Regions from separate parts of the Homo sapiens genome. Here region 1 is linked to region 2. The links are contacts of gene promoters, found by promoter capture Hi-C in human tissues and cell types (Jung and others, 2019). All regions are on one chromosome and are shown on one strand. The core of a region is centred on a gene start or on the middle of the fragment in contact, and the rest is flanking DNA. Distances in the headings are between cores, read along the strand shown. Region 1 overlaps DNAH9 (dynein axonemal heavy chain 9). Region 2 holds the start of SHISA6 (shisa family member 6).

What was found. The method cuts DNA at HindIII sites, captures the fragments that hold promoters and counts their contacts. A contact is called where the count stands out against the background at its distance.
Region 1: a fragment that was not itself captured here is called in contact with the fragment with the promoter of SHISA6 in region 2 in 2 of the 25 tissues and cell types used here (H1 embryonic stem cells and lymphoblastoid cells).

The regions. Positions count from the first base shown.
Region 1 is chr17:11,934,724-11,941,711 of GRCh38, forward strand. It overlaps DNAH9 (dynein axonemal heavy chain 9), which reads left to right. Exons shown (of 69, transcript NM_001372.4): 66 at 2,629-2,799. Among named protein-coding and RNA genes, the nearest start is that of ZNF18, 59 kb to the right of the region's middle. The HindIII fragment of the contact is 9,228 bases long and covers 1-6,911 here.
Region 2 is chr17:11,237,999-11,244,554 of GRCh38, forward strand. It overlaps SHISA6 (shisa family member 6), which reads left to right and starts at 3,215. Exons shown (of 6, transcript NM_207386.4): 1 at 3,215-4,062. The coding sequence starts at 3,425. The HindIII fragment of the contact is 17,378 bases long and covers 1-6,556 here.

The DNA of each region.
Region 1 (6,988 bases), core at 1,048-3,547, 700 kb after region 2:
TTACAGGCGTGAGCCGCCGCGCCTGGCCTGACAAAGCCGTTTTTCATGGAGCAAAATTTCAGGCAAGACCTTAGCCAACTTTTGGTAAAGTTTCTGTGGGTGATTCTAAATATCCCTGGAGGAGCATGGTCTTGTGCCAAGATCACTCAGGTCACTCACCCCTCCCACTCCGTGTTGGTGGCTATGAACACAGGCACATACCGCATACGTATGCCACAGTCAGCATTCTCATGAAGGCTTTCTTTTCTTTTCTTTTATGAGACGGAGTCTTGATCTGTCACCCAGGCTGGAATACAGTGGTGCGATCTTGGCTCACTGCAACCTCCGCCTCCCAGGTTCAAGCTATTCTCCCTGCCTCAGCCTCCTGAGTAGCTGGGATTACAGGCCCCCACCACCACACCCGGTTTTTGTATTTTTTAGTGGAGACGGGGTTTCATCGTGTTGGCGAAGCTGGTCTCGAACTCCTAACCTCAGGTGATCCACCTGCCTCGGCCTCCCAAAGTGCTGGGATTACAGGTGTGAGCCAGCACGCCCGGCCTCATGGAGGTTTTCTTACTATTACTTCGGTCTTTTATGTTACTATTACCACAGCTATGTTTAAAGTATTCATCTTTGCCTATTTCACCTTCCATGGAAAACATTCCAAAAGATTTTTTTTTTTTTTTTTTATAAGACGGAGTCTCACTCTGTCACCCAGGCTGGAGTGGAATAGCGCGATCTCGGCTCACTGCAACCTCCGCCTCCCTGGTTCAAGTGATTCTCCTGCCTCAGCCTCCTGAGTAGCTGGGATTACAGGCGTGCGTCACCACGCCCAGCTAATTTTTGTATTTTTAGTAGAGACGGGGTTTCATCATGTTGGTCAGGCTGGTCTCGAACTCCTGACCTCATGATCCTCCCACCTCAGCCTCCCAAAGTGCTGGGATTACAGGCGTGAGCCACCGCGCCCGGCCCGAAAGATATTTTTTAGCAGTTTTTATTGGTAGGCTTTTGAACATGCCTAGAAAAACTCTTGAATATAAAACATAAGGGAAATATTGATCACAGGAATATTAACTGCAAGCTTTAAAAAAATTTCTTTAATTCATTAAACTTAAGGGTAAATCGTAAAAGTCATTTGATCCAGAAAAATTGGACCTATAAGAGGAGATTTAAAACAATAAAGCTCTTTAAGGAAAATAAGAGGAAATGTTTTTAACTACTTCACCAAAGGCAAAAAGGCTTTTCCCGGGAAAATTGTGCAACAGCGTCCCCTAGTGTCCATGGGATAATTCGACAGGAGGCTGGAGCAAGTAACAGGCAAAGGAAGTCTGTTTTTCTTATTCAGCAAGGGTGAAATCGATTTGCACATTTCCAAATGACTGAGGTACACTCTCTTTCTTATACTTCTCTTTAATGTGTTAGTTAATAGATGGTTCTAGGGCATCTACATAGAGTCCAGGCCTGCACAGAACGCTGGAGGAAATACAAAAATGAACATACAGATCGGCCCTTGAGGAATGGGCAATCTATTAGGCTAGGTGTTAATAACACCAAGGAATCGTCAAAATCATATCAGGAACGGAACTTGAGGGATATTTTCCCACCATCGTATAAAGAGCCATGAAGAGGCGCTCAAAACATTCAGAGCCAGGCGCGGTGGCTCCCGCCTGTAATCCCAGAACTTTGGAAAGTCAAGGCTGGAGGATCACTTGAGCTGATGAGTTAGAGACCAGCCCAGGCAACATAGTGAGACCTCATCTCTACAAAAAATAGAAATAAAAAATCGGCTTGAGCATGGTGGCATGTACCTGTATTTCCAGCTACTTGGGAGACTGAGGTGGAAAGCACTTGAGCCTGGGAGGTGGAGGCTTTAGTGAGCTGTGTACTCTACTGTACACTACTGTACTCTAGTTTTTTCAGCAGAGTGAGAGCCTGTCTCACACACACACAATAAAATAAAATAAAATAAAACTGAGCCTTAGCCGCTGGTTAGGATTTTTAGGCATTAGGCATGGCAGACTCTAGCCACTAGCACTGGCCACAGAAAGGAGCTGCTAGGGTGACACATAGTTTCAAAATTTTTTTTATTTGAATACCTTTCACCAGGGGCGCAAACTCTCCAGTTCGCAGCCAATCTCACCTCCTTCGTCCTAAGCCCAATTCACTTGTTTATTTTGCATGTGCCATCCCATGTACATGTTCAGGTTTGTCATATCTGATTTAGATGGAGGGGAGAGAAAAGAAGGAAAGGTCTGGAATCCTAGAAGAGCTTACGTAAAATCACTAGGGAGGGATTCGTATTTTTGAAAGACTATGAGAAGTCCTCCTCTGGTCTGCAGGAAAAAGAGTCATCAGGGAGGAGTGGGAGGCATTGGGTGTGGAGATAGATAAAGTCATCTAAGCCTCCCAGAAAAAAGAGAATGATAGAATGAATGTGGAAGTTTTGGGAAACGGGTCCAGCCGACAAAAATGGATGATGTCAAGGTGCACTAATAGGTGGAGAGGGTGATGAAGTCAACCAGGGATGGTGAGCAGTGTCCCCTGGAGGAGGGATACTAGCCCATGGACTCCCTGCAGAGGACAAGCCGGTGTGGGAGATGGGAGGTACGTCCTGGTTTCTTTTTAAGTGAGCTTGCCCTTGATTTTCAGTACATCGATGCTGAGCTGCCCCCAGAATCCCCCTACCTCTATGGCCTCCACCCGAACGCAGAGATTGGCTTCCTGACCCAAACCTCAGAAAAGCTCTTCCGCACTGTGCTGGAGCTGCAGCCTCGGGACAGCCAGGCCAGAGACGGAGCGGGCGCCACAAGAGAAGAAAAGGTGTGTGTGGTGGGGACTGCCTGAGGTCGTTCTGGGGGACCCCGAGGATCATAGATGCACACCTTTCTCCTGCTGGCCATTTTGGCAGTACACAGCATAGACAACACACAAAGCACCAACCACCTGCAGCCTGGAGATGCTTGCCTGTCACCGCCAAGAGCCTCTCCCCTCCCGTCATCACCATGCTGGCCATCAGTTAAATCATAGGAAGTCCCTGCCATTGGGTTCAGCAGTTTTCTTTGCCAGTCCACCCAAAGTCCATTTTTATTCAGCTTCTCTGCCAAAGTGAAGAAAGGGCAGGGCTGAACAGTGGTGGCTTGGGAACCTTGAATGTGACTTCTTGATCCCCTGGCAAACCAAGCAAGGATGGGTAAGGGGTTGCCCCTGAGCACCCCCACCTCAGTTCACCAACCAGATGCCAGTGGGGAAGAACACAGTCCTTCATAATGCAAACGCCTTCCCTTCGTGTGAATGGCTTCTAGTCCGAGAGTCTCTAAATACACAGTTACCTGCCACTAAGCACAGGACTTCCTGAAATTTTAGGAAGGTGGAAGGGAATTATGGAGTAGAAAGGCAGACCAGGGTGAGGTGTGGGTTTCAGGACAACCCAAGGCAACATGGGGGCTCTGATCCTGGTGTGGGGGTAGCTGAAGATAAAGAAAGAATGGGCCTCACACCTGTAATCCCAGCACTTTGGGAGGCCAAGGCGGGCAGATCATGAGGTCATGAGTTCGAGACCAGCCTGGCCAACATGGTGAAACCCCATCTCTACTAAAAAATACAAAAATTAGCCGGGTGTGGTGGTGGGCGCCTGTAATCCCAGCTACTCGGGAGACTGAGGCAGGAGAATTGCTTGAACCTGGGAGGTGGAGGTTGCAGTGAGCCAAGACCGTGCCACTGCACTCCAGCCTGGTGACAGAGCAAGACTGTCTCCAAAAAAAAAAAAACAAAAAAAGAATGGGCCACCAAAGGGAAATTTCTCCATGAATTTTTTTCTGAGACAAGCTAACCAACTTCCTAAAGATGTATTTGTACCAACTGACATCCACCCCATGGTACTGCCTGGATTTTTTTTTTAATTTAATTTTTCTAAGAGTAAGATTTCACTCCATCACCCAGGCTGGAGAGTTCAGTGGCATAATCACAGCTCACTACAGCCTGCAACTCCTAACCTCAAGCAATCCTTCCACCTCAGCCTCCTGAGTAGCTAGGACTGCAGGTGTGTACCACCACGCCCTGCTAATTTTTTAACTTTTTGTAGAGACAGGGTCGCACTATGTTGCCTAGGCTAGTCTTGAACTCCTGGGCTGAAGCAATCCTCTCATTTTGACCTCCCAAAGTGCTAGGATTATAGGTGTGAGCCACTGCACCCGGTCCTAGCTGGGTTCTTTAATTTAGAGATGCCATTAGGTTTACAAGTAAACATCCTTGGGAAGATTATCAAACTTTTAGCCTCTAGAGACTGATTTTAGGAAAGCAAACTGATACTAAAAGAGTTGGACTTTTATATAAAGGTATGGAGTCATGTCATCAAAATAGTATTTCTCAAATTTTAATATGCCTAAGAATGTGCCAGAGAGATTGAAATTCTGACTCCGAGGTCTGGGGTTAGGTTGCATTGGCAACCTAGTGATTTTGATGAGGTGAGCATACTTCGAGAAAGCTGCTCCATATCACTCTACTCAGTCTATTCCACTATTTGATGTATAATTTGAAAATAAAGAGAAGAACCCACCCAGAATGAATAATGTTCCTAGATCTAAAACTGGAAAAGGCTGAGACTGTATAAGTAATAGACTTAGAATTCTTCAGTCAAGGTTCAAAGAAGGTTCTAATGCTTATCATTTCCTTATCCCCTCCCCCAGCTAACCCAAGAAATGGGGTGTGTATGTGCTTGTGTATTTCAGAAATGATATGAACTGTGATCACTTGCCATGCACAATGCTGTGTGGGACACGTGTGCAGGTTACTGGGTGCACATCTGATTGTGCAGTATCCCAGTATTTGGCCATGGTGGTGTTTCTCACATAGCTCACATGTTCCTATGAGCTATCTTCCTTCCTGTCCACACCGCAGGTCAGCTCAAGATGAGGGGCAAAGAGTCAAAGCCCAGAGAGTATTTTGTTGTTAAGAAGTAAATGACCGAGAGGTTGTACACTCCACATACACTCATGAACTCTTGACTCAATTCTGTTCCCATGTTTACATCTATATGAAGGGAAGCTGGGGATTTTAGTATATAGCTAAAGAGAAGGAGTGAGAAGGGAGGTTGGCATGTTAGATACATGGATGGATGGATGGATGGATGGATGGATGGATGGATGATGGGTAGATGGGTGATGATGGATAGATAATTGATGGATGAATGGATGGATGGATGGGTGATGGGTAGATGGGTGATGGATGGATAGTGGGTGGATGGACGGATGATAGAGGAATAGAGTTATGTACACTGAAGGGCATCTGCAGGAATATATACCAAAAAACCAATAGTTGAACAGTGTTTTTCTCCCACAGGGGGAAGAGTTAAGACTATAGGAGGACTTTGCTTCTAATATCATGTGTATCAGAAATGTTTAGATTTTTCTGATAAGCATTTATTACTTTTCCAGAAAGGAAGAAAGCAGAAGTGTTTGTCTGTGGAAATAAGGTGGACTCCGTCCCTTGGAACCCACTCCTCCTATCTGAAAGAGTCTCTGGGTTCCCTGAGCAAAAGAGGGGCCCCGCATACGTCTGTGGACCTGGGTCCTTCCCTATCAGCCCTCTCCCTCCTCAGGCCCCCACACCCTTTACAGCCTAATCAGAGATGAACCAGAACTCTGTGTCCCCACGTCCTGTGTATTTTGGAACAATACCTCCAGACGATCTTTTCGTCTCTTTGTAAATAATGTCCAAATGGAAGCTCGCTGATATAGAGCTGTTTTTTCAAACTCTGCTCCAGAGAAAAATATATATATAATTTTAGCCATTTGTCTTCTACCCCAGCAGCTGCTCTCAGGTACCATTAAAATCCGATTCCAGTTTTTGCTATGACAGCACCAAAGACCCATTCGTGACAGAGTGATTGGTTTTTACTTTCTTTTTTCTAACATCAGCTCTTTTCCTGGAGATGGCATTGTGTGTTAACAATACAAGGCAAGGTGAATATTTATCATCCTTTACACTTATATAGTTCTTCATAGCTTTCAGAGACTGCCACACTCATCAGCTCATTTGATTTGATCTTCACATCAACTCTGGGAGTTGGGAAAGGGGACAAGTGGAGAAAAAGACACTCTTGGAAGTGTTTACAGCTGGAGAAAATTGAGGCCTAAGTAACTTGCTTATGTTCACATGGGTAATGCAGGGCAGAACTGTATTAACTCGGTCAGGCCTCCTTGGCTGCAAGCTATAGACACCAACAGAGCTTAACTAGGCAAGAAATGGCTCACTCTATCAAGGGAGTCAGCCTAAGAAGAGATAAAAAATCACGATGGCTCTAGAGTCCCAGGTAAAAGAAGGGTAGACTGCCCTTTCCAGGCGCCCCCATCCTGCCAGTGGTTCCTTGGATTCCAGGCTTGAGATTCAAATCATTGTGCTCCTGGGAAACATAATCTGATTGGCCTAACTTGGCTCAGGGGAAACTGGGCCCAGTGACTAAACATAAACATAAAACAATGGGGAAGACATAGTTTCACAAAGGAGATAGGGAATTGTTCCTAGAAGGGAAAAGAGATAATGAACAGACAAAAACAGATATCCACCACAGGCACCTAGAGCTCAGCTCTCAGGACTCCAGAAATGGCTGGCGCTCGCTCACTCCCTCCCTCCTTCCCCTCTCTCCCTCTGTCCCAACCTGCTGGCTGTGTGGTCTATTATGTCTGCACTTTTCATTTTTCTTTCTCTGCTGACAGACCTCCTGGGCTTACTCATTTATTCCAAAATGGCAGACTCAACCTCCAAGTGCTTGCCCCAAATTAACTCAGAATCTCTGAGCCTCAATTCCAGTTTTCCAGGAGAGAGACCCTACTTGTCCTAGCTCCCCTGATCTAATTAGCTGACAGTTTGTGTGGGGAAAAGAATCGTGGGGTACAACAGGAGGTTTACATGATAGATGAGGGTGTTTCTTCCAGAACTCAAGGATAGAAACTGCAGTGTTGCATCATAGAAACTCAGAACTGAGTGGATGACCGGATAGATAGATAGATAG
Region 2 (6,556 bases), core at 1,965-4,464:
CTTTTCTACTACAAAGGGCAAACCAGGAGGGCTGGAAATGTCAATAAGAAATACAGTGTACTGCAGCAAGAGTTGGGATATATAACCCCTAAGATCTTACACAACCCTGAGATGCTATTATTTCCATGAGTGTTGATGCCACCACTTATGAGCACAGGGGTTCAGGATACATTTATAGGTGGTGGTGGTCTGAGAAACCAAATCAGTTTCCCCTACTTAATGCCGCTGAACAAATCATTAGAGTCTGATGTGAGGAGGACACATTTCTCCTATCCATCATTAAGGGGCTCTCAGACATGGAAAAGCAAATTCTGGAATAATGAAGGGATGGTGAAGGCTCATGGAAGAGACAAAGAAGGGAATAGCTTAGAAATTGCACAGAGTGTAAAGGTAAATATATAAGGCTGTTGTCTTCAAATATGTTCTTATGATTCCCAAATGTATATGCCTGTCTTATCTTCTCTTCTGAGCTTGCAATTCTTGTGCAGGACAGCTCCACTTAGTTCTCTCAAAGGAACCACAACACGACTATTGCTAACTCTGTCCTGAACCTGCTTTTTCAGCCATGCTTATTTCCACTGTGGGCATCAACTCCCAGTAATCTACTGCATCCCTTCATCATTTTTTACCTGTATTATCAGGACAGCTTCCAAATTGCTTTTCCTGCGTCCAGTCCAGTGTTCCCTACTCCATTTGACTCAGAGATCCAGCAAACATGTAAAACTGACAGTGTCTTCTCCTGATTAAAACCCACCAACAGTTCCCCAGCAATTGTAGAATAAATTCAAGTTCTTTGCAAGGGAGGATTCAATACCCTCCTGCTAGCCTTATTTGGAAGACTCCCTCAGGGTTCACGCTAAACTGCTTGCATCCCTGCTCACACACCTTAACCACTTCCTGTCTTTCTGGTTCTGCTAAGGATGTTCCCTCTGCTGGGAGCCTCCTTCCCCTCTTGCTTGCTGTATTAACTCGTAATCCATTCTTCAAGATTCTGCTCTACCTCATTGAGAAAGCTACATTTGACCCCCATCTGTCCCCTTGCAGGCCTAGGCTGGGTGCCTGTCTTCTGCTCTCAGAGCACCCTGCCCGCCTTTATCATGAGACGTAACCTTGCCATGTGGAAATCATTTGTTTATCTGTCTCCCTAATGGTCTACAAGGTCCCCCTCCTTGAGGAAAGGGACTCTCTTATTCATTCTGCTGGCAGGGAGTAGGCACTAAACAAATGTTTGTTGGACAGAATCTTTAAGAAGAAGGTGGCAACTGAGAAGTTAAGGGAACGGGAGGAAGTGCAGAGGAAGAGGGAGGGAATGGAGACAGTAGCAAGTGGGGAGCTGCGGGGATAGTCTGTGCACCGCCCCCCACCCCACCCCCTAGTCAATATCAGGATCTCCCTCTTGTGTCTTGGAGTCTGAGTTCGAGCTCTAATATATCCATTCCACGGTTCCCAAAAGAGGAACTCTTCTGTTCCTGGATAGGGATCCCTTGTTTAGGTCACACATGAGTGGGACTGAACAGAAAGTCTCAGGGAAAATTCTCTACCGCCCTCGCTCTGACAGCCTGTTCCCTGCCTTCAGTTCCCTGCCTTCAACCAAAGCACGCTGGTCACGCAGGCAGAATCTTGGCCTTGGCCATCGCTTTTTGTTCTCAGTTCCCCCTACCTCCTCCAAGGACACACGCCAAGGATGGTACTATGATTCTCTTTTGGGATGGCCTCGTAGCTGTGAAAGTTAGACTCAGGCCTCCTTTCCACAGACCCAGACACGCAACTACCCCGGAAAGCACCCCCGCCCTGCACCCCCATCCTCCTCACCTCCCATAGGAGCTGCAGCACAGAGATTTCAACACAGGGGTTACAAAGCTGAGTCTCAGAGGTTCAGATAGCTTTCTAATGGCCTCGAGGCTCCGCGGGGAAAAAAAAAAGTATAGCAAAGAGTTGCCATCCAGTCCTGGGGCTGTCTAGCGCCTTTATGCGTAGTGGGTACGGGGTTGGGGAAAGAGTGACCAAGGGGAAGAGAGTGTAGGCTCAGCTCACGGGTCGCCCAACAGCCTCAGACAAGCCACTTGACCCCTGGACTCAGTTTGGGAACCTGTAGCAATGGGTTTGACCTCTTCTCCTGGCTGCGAGTATCACCACTAGGGAGAGGCAAAGGCTTGCAGAAACCCCAACTCCCGCTCAGGCAGCGCGCTGCCCCGGGCTCCGGTAGGGTGGGGACTGGTCGCGAAGGCTAGAGAAGGCAATGGCAGGGGAGGTCAGTCCCTGCCGCGGGCCGGCTGCAGAGCGGACGTTCCGCCCTGCTCCCGGCCCCCTCTTCGCCCGCCGGGTTCGCCGTGTCGAATAACTGCTGTCCGGAGCTTTCGTGACGCGGAGCTTCAACTGCTGCGATCCGGAAGAAGCGAAAAGGAGTCCCCCCCGCCCCGCACCCTGAGCGCCCGGGCGTGCAAACGTGGGTGGCGGAGAGCGGCTGCCCTCCCCTCCCCTGTCCCCCCTCCCCTCGCGGCGCTCCCGTGTGTGCGGGTGTGTGAGTGCGTGTGTCTCCCTCGCTCACTCTCGCACACGTTCCGGCACTAGTGCAGGCGGCGAGCCGGCGGCTCTCCGCTCGCTCGCTCCGGCAGCTGCGTTCCCGCCTCGCCCCGCCGCCGCCGCCGCCGCCGCCGCCGCCGCCTCTGCAGTCGCAGCCGGGCATGGTGAGTGAGTGAGGTCCAGCCGCCGCGCGCTCTCCCGGCTCGCCGCCGGACCCCAGCCTCAACCGGCTCCGTCCCAGGGAGCCAGCCTGCGGCGGGAGCGCGCTGCGGGGCCGGGCGGCTGGGGGACCCGGGCGGCCGAGCTGCGCCTGGAGGGGCGGCCCGTGCGCTCTCGGTTCCAGGCGCGCAGGGCCGCGGGACCCCGTCTTGGGAGCGGGCTCTACGCCCCTCCCGGCTCCGAGTCTCTCTCCTCGAGGGCTGCGCGCACCCTCCCCGCCCGCCTGCCCGCGGTTCTCCTCCTGCTCCCGGAGCGCCAGTCGCCCCACCCCGTGACCGGCTCCCCGTCTTGTCCCGCAGGACCCGCCCGGACGGGACCACGCCGCCGCCGCCGCCGCCGCCGCCCGGAGCCGCGCTTCGGGTCCTGCCTGAGCCGAGCCGCGCGCGGGGCCGCAGTCACCGCCGGCGGGGGATGGGGCTGCCCAGGAGGCGCGCCGAGCCCGCAGGGGGAGCGCGGAGCCGGCGCGCAGCCTGAGAGCCCGAGCAGCCCGCGCCGGGCCGGTCCGTGCGCACCGCGCGCCGCCGCCGCCACTGCCGCCCGCGCCTCGATGGCGCCATCGCCCCGGAGCCGCTGACCGCTCAGCGCCTCCAGCCCGGCCCGCGCGGCGGGTCCTCCGAGCCCGGCCCGCCGGGGGAGCGGCCTGCCGCGGAAGCCTCCCCGCGCCCTCCCGCCCGGCCCCGCCATGGCGCTGCGGCGCCTCCTGCTGCTGCTGCTGCTCTCGCTGGAGTCCCTGGACCTGCTGCCCAGCGTCCACGGAGCCCGCGGCCGCGCCGCCAACCGGACCCTGAGTGCAGGCGGCGCTGCCGTCGGGGGCCGGAGGGCCGGGGGCGCCCTGGCACGGGGCGGCCGCGAGCTGAACGGCACCGCCCGGGCGCCCGGAATCCCGGAGGCGGGAAGCCGGCGGGGGCAGCCCGCGGCGGCTGTGGCGGCGGCGGCCAGCGCGGCCGTCACCTACGAGACGTGCTGGGGCTACTACGACGTGAGCGGCCAGTACGACAAGGAGTTCGAGTGTAACAACAGCGAGAGCGGCTACCTGTACTGCTGCGGTACCTGCTACTACCGCTTCTGCTGCAAGAAGCGCCACGAGAAGCTGGACCAGCGCCAGTGCACCAACTACCAGAGCCCGGTGTGGGTACAGACGCCCAGCACCAAGGTGGTGTCGCCGGGGCCCGAGAACAAGTACGACCCGGAGAAGGACAAGACCAACTTCACCGTCTACATCACCTGCGGGGTGATCGCCTTCGTCATCGTGGCCGGCGTCTTCGCCAAGGTCTCCTACGACAAGGCCCACCGCCCTCCACGGGAGATGAACATCCACAGGTGAGAGCGCCGCGTGCCGCGCGCCCCGGTCTCCCCGCGGCCTCACCCTCTCAGCTTGCTTCCCCTGTCCTCTTCACTCTCGGCATCATCACACCTCCCCAGGCCCTCTAGTCATTTCCACCATCGCTCCTTTTGCATGCAATAAATCAGGGTCTTCTTGTGCCCCCTCCTCCATTTCTTCAGAACCGGGAATGCATGCTTTGGTGGTAGGGGGATTTACAAGGCAGAGTAAGAATTGGTTGAGTGCATGAAGTTCCAAGTGTAAGAATGTTACAAATTCTGTAATCGTGGATGAGGATCCAGGGTTCTGCTTTCCTGGCATGAGGGCACTTTGGTGTAGGTTCTTAATGGCATTTAGTTTTTTGAGTCAAATCAGAGTGTCATCTTCAATATAGGAAACTGACCAATGTTGGAACCTTACTGAAAGCGGTACCAAGTGGCTTAGGGTCAACTGAGATGTTCTCGTACATTAGGAATTGGGGTTTTATAGAAAGGATGCCTCCTGCCGGAAGTAGGGATAAAGATTTCTCCATTCCATGTTGACCAAGCACAGATGGTGTCTCCTCATTGCATCCTGCGGAGTGGGATGTTTATCTTTCCTGCTGAGACTAGAGGACTCGTTCTTTGAAACCCTGTAGGCAGAACTCTGAGTTAACAGTACTCGCCTGTGTTAAACCTGGTGGGGCATCTTTCACTGCTTACGTTCGAAAGACAGTGGGAGCTGCCTCCTACCAAAACTTACGCCAAGAGCTCAAACTATGGCAGTCCCTGGTTGCACGCTGAATGCTGCCCCGACGCACCATCTTGCCCCCCAGTGAGCCCTTGGGGAAGTCAAAGCCAAGGGGATGACAGAAACCCAGCCTCCCCTTAGAACTCTAGGAATGACACACCCAGAGGATGCAGAGTTAGCTCGGCTTCCTGTCCCCTCATGTTGATGGATGGCTGGACATGGTGCAAGAGTCCTCTCAGGGAACAAACCCTGCCCCGGGAGATGCCTCCATTTCTGTTGCATGGTGTGGGCACTGCCCTAGTCACCATGAGCACCCCCCAGACCACTGCTTGTCAGTCAGTCCTGCAGGCCCCCACACTGACCCATTCACCTTGAGCTCTTCTCTGCGTCCTGCTTGTTATTCTTACCACCTGAAAACCGCCTTCCTCGCTGCTGTGCACATTAATCACCCCTGCCTTGCTGAAGAGAGAGAAAGGCAGATAGAAATTTCTAGGCATGTTAAAAGAGCTGATTTTTTTTTTCTGCTTGATACTGTGGGTGTTGAGAGAAATGATACTCCCTGGAAGGTTTTATTGAGTCAAATCCACAAAGGGTGGGTACCTCAAACTCGCGTGCTGGAATTGGAGTGATTCCAAAAGGAGACCCTTTTATAAGGCTCTGTCACCCTGAGGTGCCTCCACCCTGTCTTCCACTTGCACCTCATGTCTCAGATAGTGCAGTAAGTATCCTCTTGTGTGAGAAACAGCCTGTGGTCAGTCTTGGCTCTCAAATGCAGAAGACAAGTGGGACGGTGAGCAAAATAAAGGCAAGAGACAGTTTCTTTTGCATCTTGTCTGGCAAAGAATTTTCTGTCTCGGCTCAGTGTGGAAAGAAAAGAAGGAATTGCCCGTGGGCAGGTGCTGTCCTGAAGCAGATGTGCTGGTCCTTATCATCCTTACACCTCTGCCTCAAGACTTGGAGGCTTGTCTCCTCTTCCCCTTCCCCTGTGGCCTTGGCCTCTCATTAAACCTTCTGCTCTGACCACAGCCGCTTGCTCGTTGATTCCTACACATCTTTCTTTAAGTTACTTTCTTTCTGAGCCATTGTTCTCTGTACTCAGGGAAAACTGCCTGCTGCCCTGACCCTTCCACCTCACACAGTTTATTCGTCATCGCCTGGGATGATACAGAGGGCGGTGTCCTCAAATGCTGGCAGCAGGCATCTTTGGATGCTGGCATTGGCACGTGACCCTGGAGAGGTCACTGTCCCTCTTGGTGTTTTCTCCCCTTCCCACCACCCTGATGCCCCTTACGCCAAACTAGGGTGAAGGTGATTACGGCATTGGGGCAGCTTCTCTCTGGGGTTGGGGAAGCAGAGTAACCACGGGAAGGGAGATGAATTTCAGGCCTCAGAGCTTTATGCAAATATGGGATGTTTCCCCCTCAAGTTCACCACCTGATTTTATTCAGTTCACAGCCTCTCTTCCAGCAGCTGCAGTCTTGCCTGATCAGTGCTTTGGAAACCATCATATCCGTGCCTGTTGGGTAGGGGACAATGCCTGTCTGTGTGTGGTAGGGGGACAGGGCATGGGGGATCCATCTACGACACTCCATGAATGACCTTGGGCAGGTCAGGGAAACTTATTTTTCAGTTCTGGGTAACTGAAGCACAATGTCCCAACTCAGCTTCTTGCTTCCGGGGCACGTCAGGGTGAGTGTGCAAGTTGATCTCAGACTCCTGGGGGTGAGTGTGACTACACCACTCTTCTCACTTTGCTCACACCTC